Linked DNA regions of Homo sapiens: region 2 is linked to region 1. The links are contacts of gene promoters, found by promoter capture Hi-C in blood cells and fetal thymus (Javierre and others, 2016). All regions are on one chromosome and are shown on one strand. The core of a region is centred on a gene start or on the middle of the fragment in contact, and the rest is flanking DNA. Distances in the headings are between cores, read along the strand shown.

Evidence for each region. The method cuts DNA at HindIII sites, captures the fragments that hold promoters and counts their contacts. A CHiCAGO score of 5 or more calls a contact.
Region 2: the fragment with the promoter of LTN1 here is called in contact with the fragment with the promoter of C21orf91 in region 1 in 2 of 17 cell types (total B cells and fetal thymus); the score reaches 6.1 in total B cells.

The regions. Positions count from the first base shown.
Region 1 is chr21:17,814,971-17,822,005 of GRCh38, reverse strand. It overlaps C21orf91 (chromosome 21 open reading frame 91), which reads left to right and starts at 2,650. Exons shown (of 5, transcript NM_001100420.2): 1 at 2,650-2,703; 2 at 3,681-3,814. The coding sequence starts at 3,688. All of the region lies in intron 2 of LOC124900465 (a long non-coding RNA gene), which reads right to left. RefSeq lists an enhancer at 1,956-2,005 and a silencer at 2,256-3,035. The HindIII fragment of the contact is 2,618 bases long and covers 586-3,203 here.
Region 2 is chr21:28,990,325-28,997,359 of GRCh38, reverse strand. It overlaps LTN1 (listerin E3 ubiquitin protein ligase 1), which reads left to right and starts at 4,483. Exons shown (of 30, transcript NM_015565.3): 1 at 4,483-4,596. The coding sequence starts at 4,555. LOC105372766 (a long non-coding RNA gene) reads right to left here and starts at 4,257. Exons shown (of 3, transcript XR_007067835.1): 1 at 4,229-4,257; 2 at 3,679-3,790; 3 at 3,179-3,578. RefSeq lists enhancers at 4,199-4,258, 4,569-4,678. The HindIII fragment of the contact is 7,723 bases long and covers 3,329-7,035 here.

The DNA.
Region 1 (7,035 bases), core at 1,401-3,900:
TATAACCTTAATTATATCTACAAAGTCTCTTTTGCTATGTTACATACATATTCAAAATATCCAAGAATTAGCGTGTGGACATCTTTTTCTCTTTTTTTTTTTTTTTGAGACAGAGTCTTACTCTGTCACCCAGGCTGGAGTGAAGTGGCACAATCTCAGCTCACACAACATCCACCTCTAGGACTCAAGCCAGTCTCCCACCTCAGCCTTCTGAGTAGATGGGACTACAGGCATGCACCACCCTGCCTGGCTAATTTTTGTGGGGTTTTTTGGTAGAGATGGGGTTTCACGATGTTGCCCAGGCTGGTCTCGAACACCTAGACACAAACGATCAGCCCACCACAGCCTCCCAAAGTGCTAAGATTACAGGTATGAGCCCCCATGCCCCACTGATCCCCAGCGTTGGAGGTGAAGCTTGGTTGGGGAGTGGAGAGCAAGGGGTTGGAGCTTAGTTATGGATCCCTGATGAATGGCTTGGTGCCATTCTCTAGGGTGTGAATCAATTCCCACTCTTAATTCCCAGTGGAACTCGTTTTTAAATAAAATAAAATAAAAAATAAAAAATAAATAAAGAGAGAGCAAGCTTGGAATTTCCTCCCCTCTCTCTCTTGCTCACTCTCAGGCCACATGATCTCTGCACATACTGGCTCTCCTTTGCCTCCTATCATGAATGGAATCAGCCTGAGGCCATCACCAGAAACAGATGCTGGCACCATGCTTCTTGTACAGCCTCCAGAACCATGAGCCAAATAAACCTGTTTTCTATATAAATTATCCAGCCTTGGGTATTCCTTTATAGGAACACAAACTGACTAAGACGAGCAGTGAAAAGAAACCACTGTTACAAAATACCATCGTGAATCTCAAAAACATGCTGCATGACAATAGCCAATCACAAATGAACACACACTGCTTAATTCTATGTATATGAATTCCTATAACAGACAAAACTAAAACACTTCGTCATATAAATTAGATCCCATGTTGAAGGAGCTTGACCAGAAAGGAACAGAAAGAAATGTCGGGGCTGTGGAAATGTTCTGTATCCTCACTGGGGTGGTGGTTACTCAAGTGTATGTATTTGCCAAAACTCATCAAATAATGCTTTTAAAATGGAAGCATTTTATTTCTGTAAATTATTCCTTGATTTTTTTTAAAAAGCCAACAACAAGAGAGAAGAGTTTTAAGAATAGCAAGTAAACAATGTGAAATGCCATAGGAAGGAAGACAATTCTGAGAAGTGAAAATAACTTGTTTCAATTTTTAAATTTTAGTGATTTTAGAACACTTTTATTGAATCACTTTAAAAGAGTCCTTTTTAAAAGAATGCTTTTTATTGAAAAGATGGGTAGAATCCAACATGCAAGGTATCTTAGTCGTAGTTACCTAGAATGAGAAATTCGAAGAGAAAAAGCACAGGCTTTTCATTTCAATTAGTGCATCTCAAACTTCGATGAACATAGGAATCTCCTGGCGGTCTTGTTAAAGTGCAAGTATTGATTTAGGAAATCTCGAGTGGGGCCTGAGATTCTACATTTCTAACAGGAAACCAAGTAATGTCAATGTTGTTTGTTCATCTACTACAATTTAGGTGGCAAGGACACAGATCGCTCCTGCGAGGCACAAATGCCATAACTGGAGTGCTAATTTGGCCCAGAAGTTTCCAAGATCTAGACAGTCCATTCCTAACCATCAGTTCAAGAATGCCTACATGTAGATTGACAGGCTAGCCCTCTTTCTATGTGAGTGCAACCAGAACACATACATATGATGCTGTAGAAAATAACATTGATCTTAGGTCAGTAGCCTTCGGTTCAAGTCCCAGCCTTTTTCTAACCAACTGTGATAACCTGGGTCAATTACTCGTAGGCTGCAACATGAGAGAACAGTTCCTGTTTCTCCTCTGTAGGTTACTGTGAGGACTACAATGGAAAATGTAAGTGAAAGTACTGCAAGAACCATACCCTAAAAAAAACAGAATAGCTTAAACAAAAGTCAAGCAAAGAATTTGAGAACCAAGCAGGACCTAAAAATAAGAGGTGGGGCTTCGGGATTTTTCCCGTGGGCGTTGAGGGATGTACCATATTGGGGGCAGGGGCGCCCCACAACAAATAATGTATTTGAAAAGATTCTGTATTTGAAATTATGCCTCTATCATGACACCTGAATATGAACTTTTCCTTCGTTAGATACTTCAACTGGCACTTAACTATAAGTTCAGTGACAGTATTCTGCTTCTTTCTCCTGAAGTCAAAGTGCCACCCACGCACCTCTCCCGTTCTGCCATCCACCCGCGGCTTTCCTACCCCCGCCGCCTGCGGCCCCCGCCCCGGGGCAGTAGTTTGCACTAGGCTGAAGGGAGAGGTGGAACGGATTCGTCTATCTACGCACCTCGAGGAGGGGTGTGTGAGGAGCTACGTTCCAGAGAACGGTAAGAAACTCCGGCCAGGAAACACGGGATCACAGGAGAACTCGAGGCGAAGGTGCGGCGTCGGTGCAGGAGCGGAGGGGCGGACCCACAGCAGCCCGGCGAGCGCGCAGGTGTGCCCGCGGCCGCGCCACCCTCCCCGCAGCCTTTACGGGATGGAGCCGGCGGGAGAGGGCGGGGCCAGGCGCGCGGCGGCCGCCTCTGCTGCGGCCGGAAACAATAGTGGAGGAACCCGAGCCGCACGGAACGGCGGTGGTGGCCCGCGGAGCCGGACGGTAAAGACCCCGCAGCCCTGCTCCCATCCCACCTGAGCCCCGACCCCCAGTCCCATCGTTCCGCCTCCTTCGAGTTCCGAGCCCCGTGGCCCCTCGCGCTGCTGCGCGCCAGGCGCCCCGACGGACAGACCGACGGAAAGACGGACTTGGGTCCGCGACTCCCTGGGGGCGGCCGCGCGCCCCCAACGCCGAAGGCCGGGCCAGGACCCGGCTCCCCGAGACGCTGAGGCTGGGCGGACCGGCCGCCGTGGCCCTCGGACGCTTTCTTCCCTCTGGGAGGAATCCCGGAGCGATGGGACGAGGCTCTCCCGCCCGCCGGGCTCCAGGATGCCGCGGCTCTCCCAGCTCCGGCTTGGGCCCCTCCGGCGGTGCCCGGCCGGTACCGTGAAGCCGCCGCTCGGCCTTCGGTGTAGTTGCCCCGGACACGGCGGGACGCCCTCCCCGGGTATTCGGTACCCACGTGCATTTTGCTGCCGCCGATCTCCGTTCGATGCGAAGCTTCGCAACTCCGAGTTCGCGAGGCGCATCTGAGGTTCCCCCAATGAAGTTAGCAAAGCAGTGTCCCGTGCAGGTCGTTTTTCCTGTTTCTCACAGCGTTAACTAGGTTGACAGAACCTGGTAGCTGAAAAGGCCTCGCTGCTAAGCCCTCTGATTATTCGAGGTTGGGGGACGAAGGAGGAGGACTAGAATGCCGGCAAATCTCTTTCCTTCAGGTGCCACTAACCCAATCAACTATAGGACAAAAAAGACACGGACATAGTGTCACCTATGGCCTGGCTTTAAGTTTTACTAGCTTTGTGTCTTTCCACAGGAAAAGTGCAATGTTGGAGTGCAAGTATGGCGATGCTTGTTTGATGGAGCTTTTGCTTTAAATGAGCTGAACAGCATCCTTATTTCCTAGAAGTTCCCAGTAAAGGGAACTACCCCAAAGGCAGGTTCATGAAATTGTGTAACTTTCCTTTTCTGTTTCTTAATAGGGGCACTATGAACGAAGAGGAGCAGTTTGTAAACATTGATTTGAATGATGACAACATTTGCAGTGTTTGTAAACTGGGAACAGACAAAGAAACACTCTCCTTCTGCCACATTTGTTTTGAGCTAAATATTGAGGGTAAGGACACAGTATAGTTTTGATCTTATGGAATGAATTTAACACAGCTGCTTTGTACTGATTGTAAGGTAAAACTAAAATGTCTTCAATGATTGGAAATTGTGCTAAGTATGAATAGTGTAGAGATTTGTTAAAGATAAGGTTTCTGGAAATGAAGGTGCAGTTAACAGAGTTACGAATTTAAGAGAAATCTTTTTTTTTTAAAGACCCCTGCAACAACCCCATTTTTCCTAATACAGAAATAAGTATGAGTGTTGACTGGGAAACGTGTTTTCTGGTTTGAGAGCTTATTGAATTGTCAGATTTTAACAGACCTGTGTGTTTTTTATATTAAGAAGTAACATAACAATTTTTTTATTCTTTCGAGCCTATTATGCAAGTATTTGAGTGAGATGAGCCCGAACTCTTTTCTCACCAGTATGATCTTATTATCTGGAAAAATACTTTAAAATTTTTAGATTAACCTCTTTTCAGTGATCACACACACTGTTGGTAATTTTTAAAACCTGAAAAGGTTTTTAAAATTTTTTTAATAATGTCCCTAAGATATATGAAGAAAAATTCTCCAAATCCAAAAAGAAACCCCAAAAAAAAGCCCTATTGGAAGGATTTATTTGGGTTGGTGCAGTTAGTGTTGTCATATTACAATTGATTTTTGGTTTAGATATTTATGAGTCATACTAAAAAAAACCTTAATATTCCTGCAAAAAAAATTTGGCCTGTAATTTGAGTTTTGAGTTGTAACATATCAGTAGAGAGACTTTATTAAACCTCTAGATTTTGGACAGTTTCAAAATAGTTCTTTCCTTTTTTCTGTATTATATATTTGAAATTTTTCATGATCTTTATTTTCTGTTTACTAAGTATGGGGTATGAAATGTTCTTATTGTTTAAAAAAATATAGTGGGGGATTATATACCTTGAAATTCCTGTTAGGACTTGTTATTCAGAAATTATTATGGTCACCAAACAGTATGTGATGGAAGATTATGGATTTCTTGTGGATTACATAGAATATCTATAACTTCAGCTTTAATAAATGTAGTGATTATAGCTAATTTCAAAAGATGACATAACAGGAACAGTGGTGTGTTCCTACAATCTCAGCTACTCCAGAGGTTAAGGTGAGAGGATTGCTTGAGCCTAGGAGTTCAAGTCCAGTTTGGGCAACATAGCAAGACCCCATCTCTAAAAAATTAAATAAAAATAAAAGGATATCTTAAAAATAAGTTTCTTTTACAGTACTTAAATCATGCTGGGGTGAAAATCCAAATTTATGTTCTTTGGAAATAGAGTTGGCTTGTATATTGTTGATACATTGTAGAATTTTAATTTTAGATGAGTAAAGACATTAGAAATTATCTAGTCCAAACCCTGTATTTTACATTTAAGGAAACAGCCAAAAAGTTGGACTGCCCAGGGTTGCTGTAGTGGTGATGGCAAGCTGTTGTTATGTGCCAGGCACTGTGCTAAACCCCTTATGTGGATTATCTTATTTAACTCAAGATAGCTTTGGAATGACTACTGTCATTTTCTATTTTAAATGTGATAGAACTGAACCTTGGCGACCTAAGAAATACAGTTTGAAGTCACACAGCTCATAACTGTTGGTCCTGGACTTTAAAGCCTGGCAGTCTGGTTCTAGTATATGTGATCTTAATACCATTGATCTACTGTCAATAGTTATTTTATAGCAATAGGGCTGATGTTCTAATCCTAATTGGTTATCCTTGCTATTCTCTCAGCCAGCTTTTTCTAACCAGTGTTTGCTGGCAAATCATCATTAATGGAGTTCATGCCATGATCGAATTTTTCCACAGAACCCTAAATTTTCGTAATTGCTTTTCTAGCTTTTTAAAATAAGCCTTTTAACTGGTTCTCAGTCATTATATAGAGAATATACAAATATTACCTTAGGTACCATCTCTTAACATTTCAGCTCTGATAATATCTCAGCATGTAAGCATGGAATAAGTCCTTTGTTTTTGAAATCATAGTTCCCTTCAGTGTAAAAGACAATTCTCAATTTGAATTAGAACTATTTCGTTTAATATTCTATGTATATTCAAGGTTTTATATATTAAAATCCCAATTTAATCTTTGTAAGAAAAATTAGAGTCAAATAATTTCTTCTCTATCTGGTGTCATTTCTCAGCTCTCACAAATACGCATTTTCATTTTCACTACAGTGATCAGCTAGTGTATTACAACTTTTTTGTTTAAGATTTTTGTAGGCCGGCACAGTAGCTCATGCCTGTAATCCCAACATTTTGGGAGGCCAAGGCAGGCGGATCACCTGAGGTTGGGAGTTCGGTACCAGCCTGACCAACATGGAGAAACCCCGTCTCTACTAAAAATACAAAATTAACCAGGCATGGTGGCACATGCCTGTAATCTCAGCTACTCAGGAGGCTGAGGCAAGAGAATCGCTTGAACCCAGGAGGTGGAGGTTGCAGTGAGCTGAGATTGTGCCATCGCACTCCATCCTGGGCATCAAGAGCAAAACTCTGTCTCAAAAAAAAAAAAATTATTTTAGAAAAGAGGAGGGAAATGAGGATCTTGAATTGCACAAAATTTTAGTTTTTATATCAGTATACGGGTCTTTAGAAATCAGTGGGGGAAAAAAGTCATAATAATAATTACATACTAGAAAAATAACAAGGTATATTTGTTGTCGGTAAATCTTTTAAAATATTTTTGAAGTTTTCTTTCCTCTACCAAGTTCCCAACACAATGCCTGTCAATAGACTAGAATGTAAGAGGGGCTTTTTAAAAATGACATTTAACTTTACTAGTTTAGTGTAAATTTTTTGTAGTTTGGTAGTATTGCAGTTGCCTGATTTCTTAGCTTTATAATTGCTAGCTTTGGTCTAAAGCACTCTTCTCCGAGAAGAGGCTGAGTAAAAATAAATTCTCTTGAGGAATAATAACAGTTAAGCTAGTTTTGAGTCCATACATTTGTAGTAAACAATAATAATATTTTCTACTTTTTGGATTGTTGCTTACATCAAATCAACACTGGTTTCCTAATCAATTAGCCTCTTGTTTAAAAGCTGTGTGCATGCATACGTTTATAAAATGAAGACAAAGGAAGGAAGAAATAACAAAAGACAATCTAATCTTGTTGAACAGATTTTGTACTGTGGGCATGGCTCTAAGTTGGCTTTTTCTCTGACTTTACAATAATGAAAAAGAAAGAGGAGCCTACATTTTATGTACTT
Region 2 (7,035 bases), core at 3,234-5,733, about 11 Mb before region 1:
CAGTCTCCCAAGTAGCTGGGACTACAGGCGCCCACTACCATGTCCAGCTAATTTTTTGTATTTTTAGTAGAGATGGGGTTTCACCATGTTAGCCAGGATGGTCTAGATCTCCTGACCTCATGATTCACCCGCCTCGGCCTCCCAAAGTGCTGGGATTACAGGTGTGAGCCACCTGGCCCAGCCGAAATATATTTTTAAGTGCTTGATGTCTGATTTTCCTCCTCAGAAACTTGTCTGGATGGGTAAGATTATTTTAACATCAGACTTCTGTAAGGCATGCCCAATATTTACTTAGGGAAAAAAGGCTATAATTCTGATGTGTAACTCTTAATCTGTGAAAACAAGAATTTATAATATTAATAATTATGAATGAAGAAGGGAGGGTTTCAAGTCTCTTTTTTTTTTTTTTTTTAACTCCCAACCTGGTTTCTGAAGAGTTTCTAATCTTGGCCTTAAAAGTATTGACATTTCTTTTTTCTTTTTTTCTTTTGAGACAGAGTCTTGCTCTGTTGCCCAGGCTGGAGTGCAGTGGTGTGACCTCAGCTCAGTGCAACCTCTGCATCGTGGGTTCAAGTGATTCTCCTGTCTCAGACTCCTGAGTATGTAGGATTACAGGCACGCACCACCACGCCTGGCTAATTTTTGTATTTTTGGTAGAGACAAGTTTTCACCATGTTGGCCAGGCTGGTCTCGAGCTCCTGACTTGAGGTAATCCTCCTGGCTTGGCCTCCCAAAGCATTGGGATTACAGGCGTGAGCCACTGCACCCAGCCGACATTTCTTGACATAAACATTAACATTTTGACAAAAATTAAACATTATTTTTAATGTTCTTCTGTCCAAACCTTTTCTGCCTATCACCTACTGTATTGATAGAAACAATTATTTTCTGATTTCTAAAACCTTGTATGAATCAATTAAAACAAATTTGCGGGTATCTACTTTGGCAGGCACTGTTTAAGAGTACCATGGAGATAGCCTCACCTTCAAAGGATTTACAGACTTGCTGGAAAATCTAAACATGAGAAACTGTTAAATCAATGAGACTATTTTCAAGTTCCCAAAGCAGTAATATCCTACTGACTTCTGGGTAAAAAAATAAACCAGTTATAAGTTGATGTCCTAGGAAAATCGAAGAGAGATCTGTGTGGCCTGGAGTAGTTGAGGAACATGGCAAGAGGCATGGATCCCTGTTGCAAAAGGTGGAAAGTCTCGTCAGAATACAAGGAAATGAAATGAAGAGATATTTCCAGCAAGAACAGACAAAATTTAGGAAACAATTAGTAAATAGGAGCACAGAAAATCATTCCAGTCTTGTCCTTCAAGTTTTTTTTTTTTTTTTCCCCCTGGGTAAGTCTGCACTGAAGTTAGGCTAGATTCTTGACTGTCCTTTCCGAAATCCATGCTAATCCAACTCACTGTCTCTGTCCCTCTCTCGTCCCCATTTTGAATGTTCTCCCTTTTATTTTACTTTTCCTAATGTTTTCCAAGCTTTGGGCTTTGGCTTGGAAAGCCTATCTGACTACTCAAGCACATGTTAATCTTCCCCTTCTGTAGCATTTTTGATATGTGACACCCACATTTTCAGTGAATGGCATGATATCTAGTAGTGTTTCCAATGTGTTAAACTGTTTGCAGCTATATTGTATAACTCTCAAGAATGAGGACACTACAATTTGTATAACCAATGTACCATGATATATGTAACCAATGATTTATTTTAAACAAACAATATTTGTTGAGTTGATTTTTTTTTTTTTTTTTTGAGACGGAGTCTTGTTCTGTTGCCCAGGCTGGGGTGCAGTGGCGCGATCTTGGCTCACTGCAACCTCTGCCTCCTGGGTTCAAGCAATTCTCCTGCCTCAGCCTCCCACATAGCTGGGGTTACAGGTGCGTGCCACCGTGCCTAGCTAGTTTTTGTATTTTTGGTAGAGACGAGGTTTCACCATCGTGGCCAGGCTGGTCTTGAATTCCTGATCTCAGGTGATCCACCCACCTTGGCTTCCCAAAGTGCTGGGATTATAGGCATCGGTCACTGCACCCAGCCTGAGTTGATTTTTAATTACATAATTAATACATGAAGATGTTGTCCTTGTATAAAATAAAATCTTACAGATAAGGCTTAATTTCCTTTGACTATAACTCTTAACCCTAATGTCTTTTCTTGCCACTTTTTCCCACAAAAAGTCACTACAATGATCAGACTGGTATGTATTCTTGCAGATCTTTATTTTATTATTATTTTTTTTTGAGACGGAGTCTCACTTTGTCACCCAGGCTGAAGTGCAGAGGCGCGATCTTGGCTCACTGCAACCTCCACCTCCTGGGTTCAAGCAATTCTCCTGCCTCAGCCTCCCTAGTAGCTGGGATTACGGCTGCCTGCCACCATGCCCAGCTAATTTTTGTATTTTAGTAGCAACGGCGTTTCACCATGTTGGTCAGGCTTGTCTCAAACTCCTGACCTCAAGCAATCCACCCACCTCGGCCTCCCCAAGTGTTGGGATTACAGGCGTGAGCCACCGCACCCGGCCTATTCTCTGTATTTATATTATATATATATGCATAAATATATATATATATATATTATTGTGTTGTGGGTTTTAAAAACACAAATGGTATCATACTGTATATATTGGTATTTGCTTTTTATTTAAGAATGTGTCTTAGAATTCTTCCTATGTGTGTTCAGATAAACCTTATTCTTCTTAAATGTTGCCTAATAGCTTATTGAATACATATAATTTATTTAGCAGTTCTCCAATATATAGACATAGGTTGCTTACAATTATCTTTCTATTATAAAGTTTTTGTGAACCTCCTGTAATATGTCTCTTTGTGTGACTTTTTTCTGAGACAGTCTGCTCTGTCACCCAGGCTGGAGTGCAGTGGCATGATCTTGGCTTACTGCAACCTTCGCCTCCCGGGTTCAAGAGATTCTCGTGCCTCAGCCTTCCAAGTAGCTGGGATTGCAGGCACCTGCCACCACTGCCCAGCTAATTTTCGTATTTTTAGTAGCGATGGGTTTTTGCCATGTTGGCCAGGCTGGTCTCGAACTCCTGACTTCAGGTGATCCACCTGCCTCGGCCTCCCACAGTGGTGGGATTACAGGCATAAGCCACTGCACCTGGCTTTTGTGTGCATTTTAAAATCAGGGTCCAGTCAGGAAAACAGAAATCACATTAGTTATTGAGAAATATTTTAATATGGGAAATTGGTCAAAAGGAATTATAAAAGGTAACAGGTAATCACTGCAGGTAGCAGCTACCATTCCTAGAGCTAGGAAAGGATGGAACAAAAGAAGTGGTTGGAGTCATCAGAACCTAAAAGCTTGAAGGAGGGCCCTGAACACCTTAGTTCAGGCCTATGAAGAATGAAGAGAGGGTGATGGCTGGCTGTTACTGGATCTCTGGAGCACAAAGAAGGGATCCCACGGTGTTGAGGCTCAAACTTCTGAGGAGGTGGCTCAAACATTGGCTATCTCAGGAGCTCAGGGGAGGGGCCGCATGAAAGTAGAATTCAGATCTCTGAGGAGAGCACTGACTGCTGCTGTGATCTCTGAGGGGTGCAATAAGGCTGATTCTGTGATTGTTGGAAAAAGGATAGAGATTAAAACCACCTTTTGGCTAAAGCAATTGCTCCTGCCACGGTAAAATGCAGCTGCTGCTGGCATGATGCTTACAGAATGGAGCAAGTCCCTTCTTCCTCTTGCCTTTGTTTCCCTCTTGTTCGTCCTGTTGGTGGAATCTAGCAGAAGCCCCCCCAGTAACATGGAGTTGAGTATAAAAGGGTGACTGCGTGGACAAGAAACAATAACCAGCACACATTTACTTGTTTCTCTGGTGTGATTCTGAGTCGCACAATCAATGGGTTACAGGATTTGTACATTTCAAATTTTAATAGGGACTCCCACATTATCCTCTTTCCTAAACTGCACGTTAACAGTTTCAATATGAATAAAAGGGGACGGGGAGGGGAGATTTAGAGAGAATAGTGCCTACAGCAGTAATCAAATTTTAACAAGACTTGGGAATACTGTCAAAATGCAGGATCTGATTCAGGAGTTCTGAGGGGCCCGAGTTGGCCTTTTCTAAAAAACGCCCAGGTGATACTGATGATTGCATCATGTTGGAAGTCTAAAACACTCCCATCTTCCCACAGCCTCTACCATAACATTCTAATGCTACCCTTATGTGAAACTGCCCCTCTGATGATTCACGCCAGTTTCCTACCCTCTAAGCAAGGAACAAACCTAGCTTCTGAAAGCGGGGAGGACAGGATTTGGCGCCACGGGTCCAATGCTTGGCTTCCTATTGGCCAGGAATGACATCACTCAGACAGGCGTGGCTTTAGCTGTGACGTCTCCGGTGGCGGATGGTCAGGGACACAGCGGGAGGCGGGAGCGGAAGTGGGGCAGCAAATGGACAGGGTGGGTGGCGGAAAAGGGCCCGGGGGAAGTTATTACAGGGTGTCCTCTTCCGCCGCCAGAAGCCGGAAGTTGTGTCCCGGACGTGTCAACCGGGGTCTGAGTGCTCAGAGTACAGCTGCAACCGCGACCATGGGCGGGAAGAACAAGCAGCGAACTAAAGGGAACCTGAGGGTGAGCGGGGGCTGGCTCGGCCGACCCGGGAGCCTCGCTTCGAGGCGGCTGGCTCCGCCCAGCGCGTTGCTGGAGGGTGTGTGGAGCGCGGCTGTAGGGAGGCGTGTGTTTCCCTGTCGAGTGTGACCTCTCTGTTGTGTGTGCGTCCCTGAGAGCGGTTTGTGTTATCTCTGAGCAGATTGGGGAATCGTGAGAGAAAAGATGTACCATGCCAGAGCTGTCCTCATCCGAGCACACACCCATAATATTCATGAAGAAATGATAATGTGTCAGGTTCACTGGAAGGTGATCTGGCCGAGGTAGCGGGTTGGTTGGGGGAGGGCGGCGCTGGGAAGAAGGAGAGTTGGGAGAATGTTAAAGTGAATCCACTGTGGAGGTTACCGCAGATTGTGCCTCTCCTTTGCTACCTACAGTGGCTTCTCCTAAGCTAAAGCTCTTAGGATGGTATATTTGGTTTCTGGACTGCCTGTTACCCCTTTCCATCTGCAGTCCCATCTTCAGCTCCCTCCTCTTGGCTTACTTCATCCAGCCACACTGATCTCTTCACTGTGCCTTGACTACCTGGCCGGCTCCCAACGCTCTTCAGTTAGGTGGCTCCAAACTTTGCTCTCGACACCTCAGTGAGGTCTCCCATGATCACCCTCTTGGTAGCCCTTCCCCACTCCCATGTTCTTCCTACTTTATTTTACTCCATTGTATTTATGACATTTATTGTCTTGGTTCACTAGGACGTAAGTATTTTGAAAGCAAATGTTTTTATCCTCGGAACCTAGAACAGACTGGCACCTAATAGACGCTCACTAAGTACTTGCTTAAGGACGACCTTAAAGTGGATTCGTGTAAAACTACACGATGAGGGGTTTTGTAATGGTATTTTTTTATGGTGTTAGATTTATTATAGCACAGTCCAATTTTATGAGAATGCTTTTTTTTCCTGTTTCTGATGTAGTTAATTCTAGTGATTTCAATGTCACATTTTCTTAGATCTGTCACTTAATCTGTTTTGGAAGATAATAACAGTATTAACAATTATAGCAACCTGTTGTGTTACTGTGCTAAGCACTTTACTTGCATCTTTTAATGTTTTTTATTTAACAGATTTTCTCAAATGTTTTATATTTGAAAAGTTCTTATGAGGAAAAGTTGCAAGAATATTAGAACGACATCCCATATACTCTTTACCTACATTTACCAATTGCTAATACTTGGTTGCATTTGCTTTCTCTCTCTTAATTTATGTATTTTTCTGAACTTATAAGAGTTAGTTGCAGAAGTCGGGACTCTTAACTCCTAAATACATCAGCATGTATCTTCTAAAAACAATGCCATTTTCTAGCCTGCAGCAATTATAATAATGGTTATAGTATGCAGAAACTTTGACTTTTGTATAATACTGTAATCCAGGATACAGCCTTGTATTTAGACTTCTGTAGTTATCCCAATAATGTTCTCTTTTTTCTTTTTTTTTTTTTTGTAAGACAGGGTCGCTCTGTCTCCAAACCTGGAGTGTGGTGGTATGATCATGGCCCACTGCAGTGTCAACCTCTTGGGCTCAAGCGGTCAGTCCTCCCACCTCAGCCTCCTTAGTAGCTAGGACTCCTGGCTAATCTTTTTTTTTTTTTTTTCGGGGACAGAGTCTGGCTCTGTTACCCAGGCTGGAGTGCAGAGGCGTGAACTTGGCTCACTGCAATCTCCGCCTCTCGGGTTCAAGTGATCCTCCCAGCTTAGCCTTTCCAGTAGCTAGGACTACAGGTACAGGCCATCACGGCTAGCTTATTTTTGTAGGGACAGAGTTTTGCCATGTTGCCCAGGCTGGGACTTTTTTAAAAAGATAAACCGTTTTAACATCTGAGATTCAGTCAAGGATCACTCATTCCATTTAGTTACCATTTGGGTTTCTTTGATCTAGACAGTTTCTCAGTACTGTTTAAGCGGGGAGAGGAGTGTCTTTTTTAACAAAATTTGGAAGAGCCTGGGCCATTTGTTTGATTAATTCAGATTCATCTAGTTTTTTCCTTATGATTAGATTCAGGCTAAACAATTTTTAGAAGGAATTCTTCATAGATGATGAGTCTTTCTCAGTGCATCACACACCAGGGGCACTTCGCACCTGTTTGTCCCCTTATTGGTGGTATTTGTTTAATTACTTGGTTAAGGTGTTGTTCATTATAAAGTTATATTTTTCCATTGGCCAATAACAAATAATATGTTAGTTTGAAACTGTGAATGTCCTGCTCTTCCACAAACTTTCACCTAATGGTTTGAGCACCCTTTGATTCTTGCTGGAATCAGTTATTACTATGGTGATTTAAAAACTTATGCTTAATCATGAAAACAACCCAACTAATGAATTAATTACTCATATCTCATTTTAAATGTGGTGAAACTGAGGTTTAGAGAAATTAGCTTGCCTAAGCTCATGTAGCCAGGAAGTTGTGG